Linked DNA regions of Homo sapiens: region 2 is linked to region 1. The links are contacts of gene promoters, found by promoter capture Hi-C in human tissues and cell types (Jung and others, 2019). All regions are on one chromosome and are shown on one strand. The core of a region is centred on a gene start or on the middle of the fragment in contact, and the rest is flanking DNA. Distances in the headings are between cores, read along the strand shown. Region 1 holds the start of DMBT1 (deleted in malignant brain tumors 1). Region 2 overlaps PLEKHA1 (pleckstrin homology domain containing A1).

The links. Contacts are between HindIII fragments. The study calls those that stand out against the background at their distance.
Region 2: a fragment that was not itself captured here is called in contact with the fragment with the promoter of DMBT1 in region 1 in 1 of the 25 tissues and cell types used here (bladder).

What each region holds. Positions count from the first base shown.
Region 1 is chr10:122,559,196-122,562,068 of GRCh38, forward strand. DMBT1 (deleted in malignant brain tumors 1) reads left to right here and starts at 1,559. Exons shown (of 56, transcript NM_001377530.1): 1 at 1,559-1,636. The coding sequence starts at 1,576. The HindIII fragment of the contact is 14,664 bases long and covers 1-2,873 here.
Region 2 is chr10:122,409,670-122,412,369 of GRCh38, forward strand. The region is part of intron 5 of PLEKHA1 (pleckstrin homology domain containing A1); the gene reads left to right. Among named protein-coding and RNA genes, the nearest start is that of MIR3941, 5.9 kb to the right of the region's middle. The HindIII fragment of the contact is 5,773 bases long and covers 1-2,700 here.

The DNA.
Region 1 (2,873 bases), core at 309-2,808:
GACAGTCTGCTTTTGTCTTGGAAGGACACTTATTACCCCTTCCTGTTCACAGGTATTTAGTATTCTTACCATCATCTTTCCCTGCTGTGCTCCCGGCAGACAATTCTAATCTGTCATGACACTCTGATGATCCCAGACCCAGCTGCATTATCATTCTCAGTCCAACACTCCAGGAACCAAGGGATCACAATCCACTTCTAAGAGGAATCCAGCATGTGCCTGGTCTTGGGCATTCCCTGGTAGGTGAGTAAACCTGTTCTCTCGTCACCCAGTGCTTATCAGTTGCTGATCTGGCAGTAGGAGGATGAAACACAGTGAGCCTATTCTGTGTTCCTGTTCTACTCAAGGGGTGAAGAGGCACCTGGAAACAACAGGAAGAGTTGTAGGATTAAAAAGGACATCCAAGATTAAATGTAACTTTCATCTGGATGAAGCCAAAGGCAGACTTCCAGCCCTAAATTCTGACTGGTGGCTGACACAGGACATGGGTTCATGGTACCCTTCTAGAATGCAGCATAGACTACTGATGAACAGTGCATGGCAAAGAAGCCAAGTGTCATTTCATGGCCTCAGCCTCTCAGCTGAGAAGCAGGGCACAGCTCACCCAGGCTAGGAAAACAGAGGCAAGTCCTGGAAAGCTGTCTGCTTTTAACCAAGAGTTACTGGCCATCAAGTGTCTTGGTTAAAAAATAAGTGTCAGGCAACCTTCTTGGTAGAGTGTGTTGGGGGGCATTATCAGAGTCTGGTAATGACTTCTGAGGGTCCCAAAGAGTGAAGTGATATTTACATAGCAAATCCAAGGAGGGGGATTGTGTGCAATATAGGTGGAGGTGGGGGCAGGTTTTGTGGGTTTGCCAAGCTCCAAGGGTCATACAATGTGCATGTCAAGGACAAGAAATCAAAGCCATGTGAAATGGTTGGAGGTGGTTCAGTTTGAGGTCATGTGTTTCTCAGCTCCTGTTGTGGAATTAGTGTGAGACCCAGAAGACTGTGGCCAAAGCTATTATGGACCCATGGTCTCCGTGGAATCATCCCTCATGACTTCTGCTCTCTGATCACATCCACACTCATGTCATCCTCGTTCTTCCAAGGTGAGGTTACTAGTACTGCACAGGGGCTGATGAGAGCATGTCCTGCCAGGAAAAACCATCCCAGAGATGCTTTCCCCCTTGGCACTGTGTCCTGTATTTGCTCAGCAGCCCACATCCTGTTCTTCCCCAAACCTTGGGGCAGACTTCCCACAGGTGAATTTGAACTCCCCAAGATTAAAATCAAGCCCGTATTCAGGAAACACTTGGGAGTCCTTGAGGTTCACCGAGAGGGAAGTTGGAAATTTTTCACTTATGTCAGTGCGTTTGCAGTTGGGCAACAGCCAGATTGTTCATATGGCAATCAATCAAACACACCTAAGTTTTTTCCACATATTAGCCATCGACTGTTAGCAAAAGCCCTCACTTCCTTTATATTGATTTATAGCAGCAGTAGAAATATACCACCCTAGAGGACACACCTCCTTTTAGCTAGGTACCTATAAATGTCCAGGATTTTCTATTCAATTGAGAAGAACCCAGCAAAATGGGGATCTCCACAGTCATCCTTGAAATGTGTCTTTTATGGGGACAAGTTCTATCTACAGGTATTACGTTTAATTATTATATTCATTAATTTCTCTCCTGCAGACCCAATCATGGCAAATTATATCTACTACTTTCCATTACAAGGGAAGTTTTATATCAAAGAGTGGGTAGCACTTTGCTGATAATTGTAATTGTTTGCAGGTATTCAGGAGGAATGGCTCTTTTTTGTTTTATTTCTGGCTGAGAAATATAAATGGTTGTAGTTAGAAAAAGCCAGTCATTAAGTCAATGTTTTCAGTAAGTCATTCAACTAAAGGAATGATTGATTTGTCTTAGAAAAATCCCTGAAGTTTAGGAAAGGTGGATGTGTATTATTAAGAGGCCCTTAAACTTTGCAACAATTGGTTAAACACACAATTTGTGTGCTATGAAAACGGGCAGAAAGGATTCCCACTGCAAATGCCCTTTATGTGGCTTCTTTCTACAGGTGTGTCTGGCTTGATGGCTAATATTTGCCGAGCAAAATCAGGTCAAGTAATTGAGCGCAGACAAGATCATTAAGATTCCAAGTTTGTCTTGGAATTCCAAGTTTCTCTGTCATGCACAGCTTTAAACAAACACTTGAAGCCCAGTCACTCAAGCATAGCTGTATGTTCTTAGAGAGTCAGATGATAAACGTGAGAGAGCCGTCGGTAGCGCACTCTGATTGCTGCATCTCAATGGCATTTTGCAGAGATACTAGAGGAACAAGTGATTCTCAGTTTGCCTATTTTGTCTCTCTCTTCCTGTCTCTCTGCCTCTCTCTCTCTCTCTTTCTCTCTTATCTATTGTGTAGTTATTATCATCTTTTCTCTCCCCTCTCTCTCCCTCTGTTTCTGTCTGTCTGTCTGTGTTTCTCTCTCTCTCTGTATCTTTCTCTTTTTCCCATCTTTTGGGCAGATATCACCTTTTCTTCCTCCTCCTCCCTCTGTTTCTGCCTCTGCCTTTCTCTCCCTGCCCCCCTCACTGTATCTTCCTGTCTTTCTCATCTATCAGGCAGTTATTACCTTTCCTCCCTCCCTCCTCCTCCTTCTCTGTTTCTCTCTCCATCTCTCTTTCTCTTTATTGGGCAGCTATTATCACCTTTCTCTCTGTCTCTGTCTCTCTTTCTCTTCAACTATTGGGCAACTATTATCACCTTTCCTCTCTCTCTCTATCTGTTTCTCTTCATCTGTCAGGCAGCTATTATCACCTTCCCTCCCCCTCTCTTTTTCTCTCTCACTCTTTCTCATCATCTATTGGGCAGCTCTTATCACT
Region 2 (2,700 bases), core at 198-2,697, 150 kb before region 1:
GAAACAAGTAGATGTAGAATTCTCAGAAAGATTGTAAGACCCAGGAGTTTGTGTCTGCACGTTTTTATCCTCAGTGAATTGAACATTATGACAATTTCATTCTTTCTTTTTATCCTTTTTTTTTTTTTTGAGACAGAGTCTCGCTGTGTTGCCCAGGCTGGAGTACAGTGGTGCTATCCCAGCTCACTGCAGCCTCCGCCACCGGGGTTCAAGTGATTCTTGAGCCCTCAGCCTCCTAAGTAGCTGGGATTACAGGTGTGTGCCACCACAGCCAGCTAATTTTTGTACTTTTAGTAGAGACTGGGTTTCGCCATGTTGTCCAGGTTGGTTTTAAAACTCCTGGCCTCAAGTGATCCGCCCAGCTTGGCCTCCCAAAGTGCTGGGATTACAGGCGTGAGCCACCGCGCCTAGCCCAACATTATATTTTCATTCTTGGTGAATTGAATATCAACTTTCCCTTTAACTTTTGAGAAACCTGCAGCGTTTTTATGTATTTCACTCATAAATACTTAAATCTGTCTTGTTCATCTTTTTATTCTCTAGTTATTTTTACCTTTTCTTTTCCTACTATTAGAATTTCCTACTACTAGGATCACATGCAAATGCCTGCCAAGATTACATTCAGATCTCCTACAAAAAATGCTGGGACATAAAAAAGGATAGAAAGCCAAGGAAAGGGAGAGAGGCAGTAGACAAAGAAACCAAGTGGATTCAGTGTCTGACATGTGCCAACTGCCCAGTGAGATCACTTTTCTGATTTTCATTGGACAGTTGGATGGTTTGGGGCAGGGGTGTGTCCTGAAAATGTCTATCTTAATGGCTGAATTTAGACCAAGTTTTACAGAGGTACATATTGTTTTTAGAGGAGTTATCCATGTTCATGGGTATTTTGCTTGAACTTTTCTTGTTCTTAGGGAATAAGATGATTACAAGTTAGATAATTTTTATAGTAAAATGCAGTTCTAAGTTAACTACTAGCATTTGATTTTATTATAAAGACAAATTAGAAGCAGTGAGCTTAACAGCATAAGCAAGGACTTTTAATATACTGTAATTTAAGAAAAATGGAAAAACCAATATAAATTTCGGTATTTTTTAGAATGATTTTAAAGGTTTTTCCTAATAATTCCCAGGTCTGACTAAACTTCTTGAGAGAATAACTGCTAGTTTTCTTATGGGTCACCTCTTAGCAGCACCTCTCATTTTATCTAGTTGAATAGATTGTTTTCTCTCTGGTTTCAGGTTCTCTTAATGCTAGTTGCTGTTCTTCTCAATGAGATAACTGGGCCATATTTTCTCTGTCAGAATAATTGAAATATATGGTGCTATTCATTAGAAAATATAATGGGCTTCCCTAGCAAATCATTCCAGGGTATACTATCCTAATTTTATTTGACAAGGAAAATTCTCTTCATTATTTTATTGTCTTTAAAAAGCACTCCAAAGTGTGCAAGTTCTTAGAAGAATTCAAGAGGTATTCAGGATTCTCTTCTCTTTCCTGTTTTCTCTCTCTTTTGTTTCTGCGGATGAGGGCATTGTAGTATGAATACGAACCAGAGGCTGGAGGATTGGGCCTGGGGCCTGAGAGAAACCTCTTCAAGGGAGGCAGGTGGAGAAGGAAGGGAGAGGGAGTTTTAGAAGTCACTTAAGAGACAAGTCATTTATTATATCCATAAATTACATTTGTGTGGATTGGGACTTACTGTAGCTCAGCATCCTTTCATATACACATGGACCATGTTTGCTCAATATTTTGCAGAAAGCTGCTTTGCAAATCCTTATCTGCATTGTATACCCTCTTTTCTACAAATCTGGTGGGAGTAGCATCGTATGGAAGAAGAGCACAGGTTTTAGAGCAGTGTTTCTCAAAGTGTGGTTTATGAAACTCCTGCCTCAAAAATGTCTGGTGTTCTTGCTTAAAGTGCAGGTTTTTGGGCTGCACTATAGATATGTTGAGTCAGAATTTCTGGGTTCGAAGCAGGGGAATCTGAAGTTTTAAATAATGTTCCTGGGTGATACTTTATGCACTCTAAAGTTTGAGAAATCACACTGCTTTGGAATCACACTAATAAACGGTTTGAGCCTTTGAATACAATGTGAGTGGTGTCCTGTAGTTCTACCAGTACTCTATTAACAGGAATTAGCTATATGACAAGCAAACTATTTAAGTTAAATGTTTCTACACCACTACTTCAGTGATTGTCAGTAGTATTTGTCATAGTGTTTCTGAAAGACTGCAAGGTTCCACGTGCCCTTTAAATCATTGGAGAAGACTAAATCATGTTCAACATTATAATTGATGCTGAGCAGATTTTATTACATTTTATTCACAGCCTTAAAAATGTATAATTTAAATACAGACTATGTGCTAAACAGTCTACAGATAGAAATAATGATTAACTGAGTACCTTATTTACTGAATAGATCACATAAGAAAAGCAAAAATATATGTTAAAAATTTATGATACCTCTGATTCTTTCATCCACTTTAGTGAGGTGTTAATGTGAGATTCTGCTGTTACCACAGTCATTGTTTTCCTGTACTTGTGAACGATTTATCATTGATCCAAGTATTGGAATTCCTTCTTTAAATTTCTAATGAAAAGTTTTGTTTTGAAACTTCTGATTTGTTTTAAGAATTTTGCTATTCTTTTTTCTGCTGACTTTGGATTCATCCATTGAGTCTTTCAACATTTATTG